2 separate regions of the Homo sapiens genome follow, and region 2 is linked to region 1. Evidence: promoter capture Hi-C in human tissues and cell types (Jung and others, 2019). All regions are on one chromosome and are shown on one strand. The core of a region is centred on a gene start or on the middle of the fragment in contact, and the rest is flanking DNA. Distances in the headings are between cores, read along the strand shown. Region 1 holds the start of CYP2R1 (cytochrome P450 family 2 subfamily R member 1). Region 2 overlaps INSC (INSC spindle orientation adaptor protein).

Region 1 (4,758 bases), core at 732-3,231:
ATAAGAATTTTAAGGTATCTCTTAATAGGCATTTGTAATAGGCAGTAGGTAGATATTCTGTGGCTGCAGATACTGTGACACATACCTGTGGGGGTAACTTCAGCCCCTGGGGATAGTCACAAGCCAGTTAAACAGAAAAACTCAAAGACCTGACTAACTTGCTGACTTCCGCAGTGTCCTTGCGTGGGAGATGGAGAGAAATTGGAAACACTCTCAGAGGACAAGGTTTGCTTAGTATATGAAGCCTTTGCCCTTGATATTTCCTCTGTTTGGAATATTTTCCCCCATATCTGCCTCAAATTTCTCTTCTATAGTAGGCAGAATAATGCTCCCCTCCCCCAATAGGTCCACATACTAATCCCTAGAACTGTGAATATGTTAGGTTTCATGGCAAGAAGAATTAAGGTTGCAGATGGAATTAAAGGGCTAATCAGCTGATCTTTGAGTTGGGATTATCCAGGTGGGCCCAATATAATCACAACGATCCTTATAAGTGGAAGAAGGAAGTAGAAGAGAGATAATCAGAGAGACAGCGATGTTGGAAGGATTCAAACTGACATTAATGGCCTTGAAGAGGAAGGAATGGGGACGAAAGCCAAGGAATGTGGGCAGCCTCTAGAAGCTGAAAAAGACAAGGAAATAGAATCTCTCCTACAGTCTCTAGAAAGAATGAAGCCCCACTAACACCTCTCTGTCAGCCCTGGAAGACTCATTTTGGACTTCTCACCTCAAGAATTGTAAGAAAATAAATTTGTGTGGTTTTAAGCCATCAGATTGGTGGTAATTTATTACAACAGTAGTAGGAAACAAATACACTTCTTTAGCAGTTGATCTCAGCTCCAATGTCATCTTCCTAATAAGACTTTCCTTGACAGCCCTTGCCTGCTAAAGTATCTCCCCAACCACCAGGCGTTTTCTATAACGCACTTTTTGTTTGCTTCTGATTATTGAAAATTATTGTATTTCCATGTCATTGCTCTTCCCTCTCATAAGAATGTAAGTTATAGAAAGGACTTTGTTGCTCTTATTCACCTATGTATCTCCATTGCTTAGGACATGGGAACATAGTAGACATTCAATAAATATTTGTTGTGTGAATGAGTCGTAAGCTAATGAGGACCATAAAACTCATGCCACTGCTAAATCACAATTAGAGGGCAGCTGTTAGAAGAGTCCCAAACCCAGTAAGTCCTGTATTGCAAGGAACTGCCCAATAGAAAACAGGAATAAAAACAATTAGCAAGAATAATATGAAATCAGTTGCTTAATTCCAGGCAGTGGAGGCAGAAATCTTGAATAGTAAATACTCTCCGTGAACAAGTGCAGACAAGAGTCCCGTGATTGCCAATAAGTAATCAGTTTGGAAAGACCAGAGAGGGGTCAAATATAGGTAAACTGAGTTAATCACATAAACTGCTCAATCATCACAATTATTAAAAGATCACACACAAAAATACATTAACAGGAGAAAAATAGTAAAACAGGACAAAACAGTAAAATTACTTTCTTTTACTACTGATGGGTCAATTTTCTACTGGAAATTCTGAAAAGTATCAGGTTCAGCTAAAGACTGCAGTGTTGATCATCTCTCCAGTTTTCCTAGTGTGAAATGAAATAAGCAGACCTGGTACTTAAAAAGACACTTTAAGAAAGGTCTGGCCCCAGAGAGGCAGGATCCGCCTAGCCCAGTGAGTGAGGCCGTCCTGACACCTCGTCAATGCCCTTGTGTCAACATTCTAGAAAACGGACTCCTGGCTCATTGCTCCGCCTAGAGCCGCGCCACCTCCAAAGGGTAGCACCGGCCACCCGCTCCGCAAAGTCCACTCTCAGCCGCGCAAAACTAGAAGGTAGTTGTCCCGAAGGGGCCTGAGCGCTCACTCAGTCAGCCAATGGCCACGGAGCTAGGGCGGGACCTGAGGGTATCCTGCCAATGGGAGTATGGCAGGGCTGGAGGGAGTGCCTGGGTCTCAGGGCTGCTGTGGAGTTCGCACCTCCAGCTCGGGCCGATGTGGAAGCTTTGGAGAGCTGAAGAGGGCGCGGCGGCGCTCGGCGGCGCGCTCTTCCTGCTGCTCTTCGCGCTAGGGGTCCGCCAGCTGCTGAAGCAGAGGCGGCCGATGGGCTTCCCCCCGGGGCCGCCGGGGCTGCCATTTATCGGCAACATCTATTCCCTGGCAGCCTCATCCGAGCTTCCCCATGTCTACATGAGAAAGCAGAGCCAGGTGTACGGAGAGGTACAGCCCCGACGGGCCCCGGGCAGGGAGGGCCGCCAGGCTGGCCCGGGCTGGCCAGGGCCTTCCTGGTTGGACTTATGGCCGCCCCTGGGCCGACTAGTCGGGACCTCTCCGTGTGCCGGCTGCCCTTTGAGGGACACCCGCTTCCCGGGTCTGGAAGGGAGAAGTCCTCGACGCCGTGCCCCCTTGCAGGGGGAGCCCCGCCCCTGCCGGTGACCCACTCCGGGCCGAGGCTCCGAGGCGATCCAGTCCTGATTTTCCCGCTACCGCTCGAGCTCTTGCTCCTGCGCCTGCGCCGTTTGGCTCGCCAGCCGCGCCGCCACTTCAGGTCCAGGGTGGACGCATGCCCTCAGGTGCGGGCGTCTTGCGAGTCGGCCTCGCAGCTCTGTGGAAGCTGCACGCGGCTTGTCGGAAAATCAAGGCGTTCTGAGTTCTAGATGGTTAATAGCAGGTTCTTCGGTGTCTGCAGTCGACGAACGACTGGTGTAGGCGTTTGCTGTGAGAATGGAGAATGCAGGGGAACGCCCCTGACTGAGAAGCGGGCCCTGGGAAACGATTGTGAACGCGTGAATGAATTGATGACTAAAATCCGCTGCGGGGGTCCTACAGCGCAGATGGTAATGCCGTTCTGACTGGCTGGGAACGGCACCTTAGCAGATACTTAAAAGGCGCCTTCTGTGTGCCACTGTCACTGCCAACTTGGTGACTCATTTAAAACTCATAACCAGCCGGTGAGGTCGGTACTTCGCTCCTCCTCATTCTGCGGAGGGGAAAGCAGCACGGAAATGCCCTGTGACTGGCAGCGGAAAAGGCGACCACCGCTTGTGTGTGGGTGTCCCGACGTCCGGAGGGGGCAGGAGTTTCCACGGGTCCTGGGACAGAGCTCACCTGTTTTGTTTTGAATTACACTTATTTATATGCAACTACAGGCCTGACGCTAGCGGTGAAGAAGGCAGATACAGCCTTTTAAGGAGTTGGCAGATGAGTGGGAGAGAGAAAACTAATCTCATTATCGGCCACAGGCTGTGGTCAGTGTTTTGAAGGAAAAGTACAGGGATGTTTGGCAACTGTGGTATTTCAGGTTTGACCTTAAATCCTTACTTAAACCAATTTTTACAAGGATTGGTCTAGGTGCCCGGGCGCGGTGGCTCACGCCTATAATCCCAGCACTTTAGGAGGCCGAGGCGGGCGGATCACGAAATCAGGAGATCGAGACCGTCGTGGCTAACACGGTGAAACCCCATCTCTACTAAAAGAATACAAAAAATTAGCCGGGCGTGGTGGCGGGCACCTGTAGTCCCAGCTATTCGGGAGGCTGAGGCAGGAGAATGGCGTGAACCCGGGAGGCGGAGCTTTCAGTGAGCCGAGATCGCGCCACTGCACTCCAGCCTGGGCAACAGAGCCAGACTCCGTCTCAAAAAAAAAAAAAAAAAAAAAAAAAAAGAATTGGTCTAGGTTTCTAGAATAGAAAGTCACTAATGGTTTACGTTCCTTTCATGGTTCACGAATAGTTTACGTTGTTAAAGGGAAGCTGGACGAGATAATAAAGGTATGTATAATTCTTAGATCTTATTTTCCAACCTGCAATTCTCCCAGAATTGAGTTTATTCCCATGATTTTCATGTAATATATTTCATCTCTTTGGTATCTTGGTACACAGCATCATAATATTCTAGAGAAATAAAATGTGAAAGCATAAGACTAGAGGTCAGGTCTTCTGCCAGACAAAACTTGACCTCTATTCTGAGTCTTTTTTTTTTCTCGGTAGTGAGAATAACAACAGAAAACAGAAAAGTGCTACTCAAGTGTTCTTGGTTATTGTGTATGTTATTAGTTTCTTTCTTTTTTTATTTGAGACGAGTCTTGCTCTGTCACCCAGGCTGGAGTGCAGTGACGCCATCTCGGCTCACTGAAAGCTCCGCCTCCCGAGTTCACGCCATTCTCCTGCCTCAGCCTCCCGAGTAGCTGGGACCACAGGTGCTCGCCACCACGCCCGGCTAATTTTTTGTAATTTTTAGTAGAGATGGGCATTCACTCGGTTAGGCAGGATGGTCTCGATCTCCTGACCTCGTGATCTGCCCGCCTCGGCCTCCCAAAGTGCTGGGATTACAGGTGTGAGCCACTGCGCCCGGCCTATGTTATTAGTTTCTATACACAGAACACATTTGTTCGACCTCCAAATTTGAAAGTATTTTTAAACAAGTTATTTGAAATGGTTTCTCACAGAAAAAGGAATTAAGCTTTTCTTATATAAATATTTGAACTGAAAGACACTCGGTATTACTATGAATATTTCTTTTGGGCAGGGGGTTTTCTAAGTCCCCTATCATAGTTTTATTGCTGGTACCACTGTTTGAGGGAACCATGGTTCTTTACAGAGAGAGCTCTTGACTACAAATGAAATAGGGCCAAACTGTTACTAGCTGCAATGGGGCAGAGGAAAAACTGAAAGGAGCAAAAATGAAAAAGAATGTATGCATCAAAGAGTAGACATTGTTTGCCTCACTATGCCTTAGATCTAGTTGAT
Region 2 (4,758 bases), core at 1,499-3,998, 270 kb before region 1:
AAACAGTGCTCTGGTGAGTTGTGGGTATATATTCTCAAGCCCTTGAGAAGTGTCTGTCCCCACATGACACCAGGAACCAACATAGAATATTCTCAACCAGTTCAACAAGGTTTAAAACATTAAGCAGTATCTCTCAGGCAATCCCTGGTCAACTTAATTCAATGAAACACTATTGACACTGACAATGTTCCAGGCCTTGTTCTGGTGATCCCTGCCCCCAGGAAGCTTACATAGTCGAGCAGAAGAGACAGACATAAGAAAGATAGCCCAACTTCACTCTCATCCCATCATGATGGGTCATGAGGCTCGCTCAAGTGCATCTAAGAGTCCCCAGAGTTCATCTAACATATGTTCCCCCACCACCCCCCAAAAGACTGGTTCAGCAACTACAAGGTGGAACTGAATGATTCTGACACCCTTTCTTCCTTAGCAGCCTTACACTGGGCATGATCCTAGCTGCCATGCCCTGCCATGTCCACCCAGCATGGCTGCCATTCCTTCCAGTGAATGTCATGCTCTCTGGACTCCACAGGACATCTCAGACTGTTACATTCATCACTTCTTCTCTTACTGCTACCTCTCTTAGGTACCAGGGTACCACCACCAGGCATGCCACTGGGTCTTCTAGGCATGGTGAAGACTCCTGTTGGTTACCACTGCTCCCACCAGAGCAGAAACTCTATAGCTGGTTTACCTGGATTCAAATTCCAGCTCTGCCACTGGCTAGCTACGTAACTTTGGACAAGTTATACAACCACTCAGTGCTTCAGTTTCCTCACTAGCAAATGGTGAAAGATAATAATAACTAACTTCTGGGCTTTTGGTGATTATTAAGTGAAGTGATTATATATATTATGTGTATATACACATAATATATACTGCCTGATGGGTAATACTCTAAGTGTTAGTCTCTATTAGAGAAGTTCTAATAAAGCCTGTGTATCATCAAACCTTTTTTACTTAAAAGTCAAAAACATGAAGAAAATTCTGGAAAGATGGCAGTGGTGGCGCATATTTTTCCAATCTCTTCAAACCCCCACATGAAAACTGACAGAGTAACTATATGACAACCCCTACCCCATGGATGATATTTATAATGAAACTAGATCATAAGTTATCCCCACAAACTTCGAAATACCAGCAAGTGGGGACAAACCACCAACAGCTGTAAGACCTGCTCGGTATCATGTATTAGACCATTTTCATGCTGCTGATACAGACATATCTGAGCCTGGGTAATTTATAAGGAAAAAGAGGTTTAAAGGACTTACAGTTCCACATGGATAGGGAGCCCTCACAATCATAGCAGAAGGCGAAAGGCACATCTTAACTGGTGGCAGGCATTATAAAATCATCAGATCTCGTGAGACTTATTCACTACCATGAGAACAGTATGGGGGAAACCACCCCCATGATTCAATTACCTCCCACCTGGTCCCTCCCACAACACATGGGAATTATGGGAGCCATAATTCGAGATGAGATTTGGGTGGGGACACAGCCAAACCATATCATATTATCTTATGAGACGAAGAAGAAAGAAGCAATAAGGTGGCATCTGAAGAACATGAGAAAGGAGAACCCAAAATAGCCTCTGGGTATTTACTGGAAAGCATAGTATGGGAATTTGAGAACAGTGGCTGAAACTAGAAGGAGATTTGCCTTTCCAATATAGCTGAGTATAGGGTGTTTTATGAACTCTCAAAACTGACCCACCAGGAATCTCTACCACAACAAAGCACCACATTAAGGAGAAACTCCTGAGAGTGGAATCCAAATTCAGTGGGACAGGGACAACAGAGGCACAGGAACGAGATGTTCAGATCAATGTGAGGGAAGAAAGCAGAGATAGGAACACTCAGAGAGCAGGTCATCATATTTTTGGACCCTATACTAAAACAAAAGAAGGTGGAGTTCTATAAAGTTAGAATAGGTTTCCTGAACCCTGCCTTCTTCTAAAGGTTCATGAAAACTAATTTCACTTAAAAGTGAGCAACAGAAAGTTATTGTAGTCTCATCCCATATATAGTTATTTTAAAAAGAGAATAAAGAGCAGAATAATATCTCTACAATGAGAAAATGCCAGAAAAAAAATGTACTCTTAAAACAGATAAGACTATAACAAAATAAGCTTAAAATTTTAAGGAAATTATAAAAAACAGGAACAAGAAGCATAAATTATCAGAAAGGAAATGTCCCAACTCAGGAAGGAATTAGAAATAAAGAGGGGAAAGTCATTTTAGAAACAAAGGCTAAACAAGAAGAAACACATAAGATAATGCCTTTAAAATCAAATGCAAAAATTAAGAAAACTTTGAAAATAAAAAATGAAGAAAGAGATTAAAGGAGGCCAGATATGGTGGCTCACGCCTATAATCCCAGCACTCTGGGAGGCCGAGGTGAATCATGAGGTCAGGAGATCGAGACCATCCTGGCTAATATGGTGAAACCTTGTCTCTACTAAAATACAGAAAATTAGTTGAGCGTGGTGGCAGGTACCTGTAGTCCCAGCTACTCAGGAAGCTGAGGCAGGGGAATCGCTTGAACCCAGGAAGCGGAGGTTGCAGTGAGCCAAGATCGCACCACTGCACTCACTTCAGCCTGGGCGACAGAGCAAGACTCCATCTCAAAAAAATAAATACATAAGTAAAATAAAAAGAATTTGAGAGAAAACAACAAATATTAAAGTTAGGTAAGAAGATCCAACAAACACACAATGTAAGTTCCTAAGGAAGGAATTCAAAGCACAGAAACAGGGTAAATACTAAAACTATAAATCAGAAAACTTTCAGGTGGGGGAGGGGACTTAAAACTACACATTGAAAGAATATACTACATACATAAAAGCAAACATGCAAGACATACTGTAGTAAGATAGTAAGATTATTGCACAAGGGAAAAGAATGAGAAGGAAGGCAGGGAGGCAGGGAGGGAAGAAATTGTTTGTGTATCTAAAACTAAGTGGCATGTTACCCATAAGAGACAGAAAATTCCACTATCATCAGATTCTGAGAGCAATACTTTATATCAGAAAAAGTAGAGTTACATATTTAAAATACTCAAGGAAATAAAGTGTGAGCCAGTGATTTTATATTCATTCAAAATGACTTTCAAGTGTAAGGTGAGTAGAAATTCTCAGCTCTGATGACAGAGTGATGTTGGGCAAAAATCCTTCAAGAATAATTAAGAAGACAAAATCAGTAAGACTTGGACACTGATTCATATAGATGATGAATGAGAGAGAGTGAAGAGATGAGAACCAGATTTTTTACTTGAGCAGCTGAATGGATAGGAGAAATAAATTTGGAAGACACAATGATAGGTTCAGTTTGTGACACGGTGAATCTAATAGACCTAACATCTCTTCTTTTCAAGAAGTCCAGTCCCTCTTACTGGACTGCCCTCTCATAGAACTTTATTCTAAAAACTTCCAGGCACTCCCAGCATCCATACAGAGTGCATGGCCAACATACTGTCACAAGTCTCACCCTGAATATTCTCACAAGTCTCATTCATTCAACAATATTTAATTAGGGCTAAATAGGTGCCAGGAACTGTTCTAGCTACTTGGGATATATTAGTAAGCAAAACGAACGAACATTCCAGCCCCTGTGGAGAGTACATCATAGCAGGGGAAGACAGACAACAATAATAAATACAATAAATAAAAATGAATACAGTATGTTAAAAGCAGATGATTTCTATTAACAAGTAGTGGTAGAATAAGGGGTACCACAATCGTCAAGTGGAAAGCAGGTAAGTAATTTTCATTTTAAATAAGTGGTCAGAGCAGGGCTCATTGAGAAGCTAAGATTGAGCAAACACTTCAAAGAGGTGAAAGAATTAGCTGAAATATGGGTACTGACCATTGCAGGCGGTCAGAGCCTAGTGCAAAGGCCTTGAGAGGGAGATGCCTGCTTTGTTTGAGACACAGTATGGAGATAAGTGTGGCTAGAGTAGAAAGAACAACAGAAATATTAGTAGGAGGGGAGCTCATAGAAGGGATTAGGCCAGATCACATAAAGCCATGGAAGCCATTGTAAGCACTTTGGGTTTTATTCTGAGTAAACAAAATACTTCCCAGGTCCCCCAAGAACTCTTGTCACCAGATGTCAGCTGGGTCCATCTAGCCCATATACTTCTCTATAACCCAACAGGAAGACTCTCTCAGTGAGGGCTTTATAAAAACAACACATAGATGACTTTAGAATGACTTAACCTCTGCTATGCAGTGAACTATAAACTGTTTACTAAACAGCTAATTAAACCATAATTATTTATGTAACAAGCTATAAATACTTTACAGCATGGTTAGGCTATTAACTTCCCATCCCTCTGCACCAAGGCTCTTGTGAAGCCCCAGTCAAATGTGACTAAAGGAAATGTGACTACTCTAATCTTGATCAAATTTTTCGATGTCTTCATTTCTCTGCTTCTGATCTGCCTCTGAATCCCATGCTGAGCTGCATCAGCATAGGCCTTACTGTGCATGGGGGCTTTTACGTAAGTGGCGGGCAATTCTTCTTCTCTCCACCCCTAAGCACTCCAAGTTCACATTTTAAGTGTAAATCCTGCCCCAGCATTTGGTGCTAAGCAGGTTGCAACAGGCATGTTTCTAACTTGCCACTGACCCATCTGTGCAATACCAGAAACACTGAGAAGGTTTTTTTCTCCTTCAGTGGGCTCTACAAAATGCCTCCTGTGCCCACCTATAGTGGAAATGCCCCCTTTTCCTCTGAGCTTCTCTGTGTTCTCTCC

Evidence for each region. The method cuts DNA at HindIII sites, captures the fragments that hold promoters and counts their contacts. A contact is called where the count stands out against the background at its distance.
Region 2: a contact is called between a fragment that was not itself captured here and the fragment with the promoter of CYP2R1 in region 1, in 1 of the 25 tissues and cell types used here (H1 embryonic stem cells).

Annotation. Positions count from the first base shown.
Region 1 is chr11:14,889,454-14,894,211 of GRCh38, reverse strand. It overlaps CYP2R1 (cytochrome P450 family 2 subfamily R member 1), which reads left to right and starts at 1,981. Exons shown (of 5, transcript NM_024514.5): 1 at 1,981-2,231. The coding sequence starts at 2,007. It also overlaps a transcript of PDE3B not described here. RefSeq lists a silencer at 2,234-2,473. The HindIII fragment of the contact is 8,315 bases long and covers 1-3,243 here.
Region 2 is chr11:15,161,478-15,166,235 of GRCh38, reverse strand. All of the region lies in intron 2 of INSC (INSC spindle orientation adaptor protein), which reads right to left. Among named protein-coding and RNA genes, the nearest start is that of INSC, 49 kb to the right of the region's middle. The HindIII fragment of the contact is 3,139 bases long and covers 1,179-4,317 here.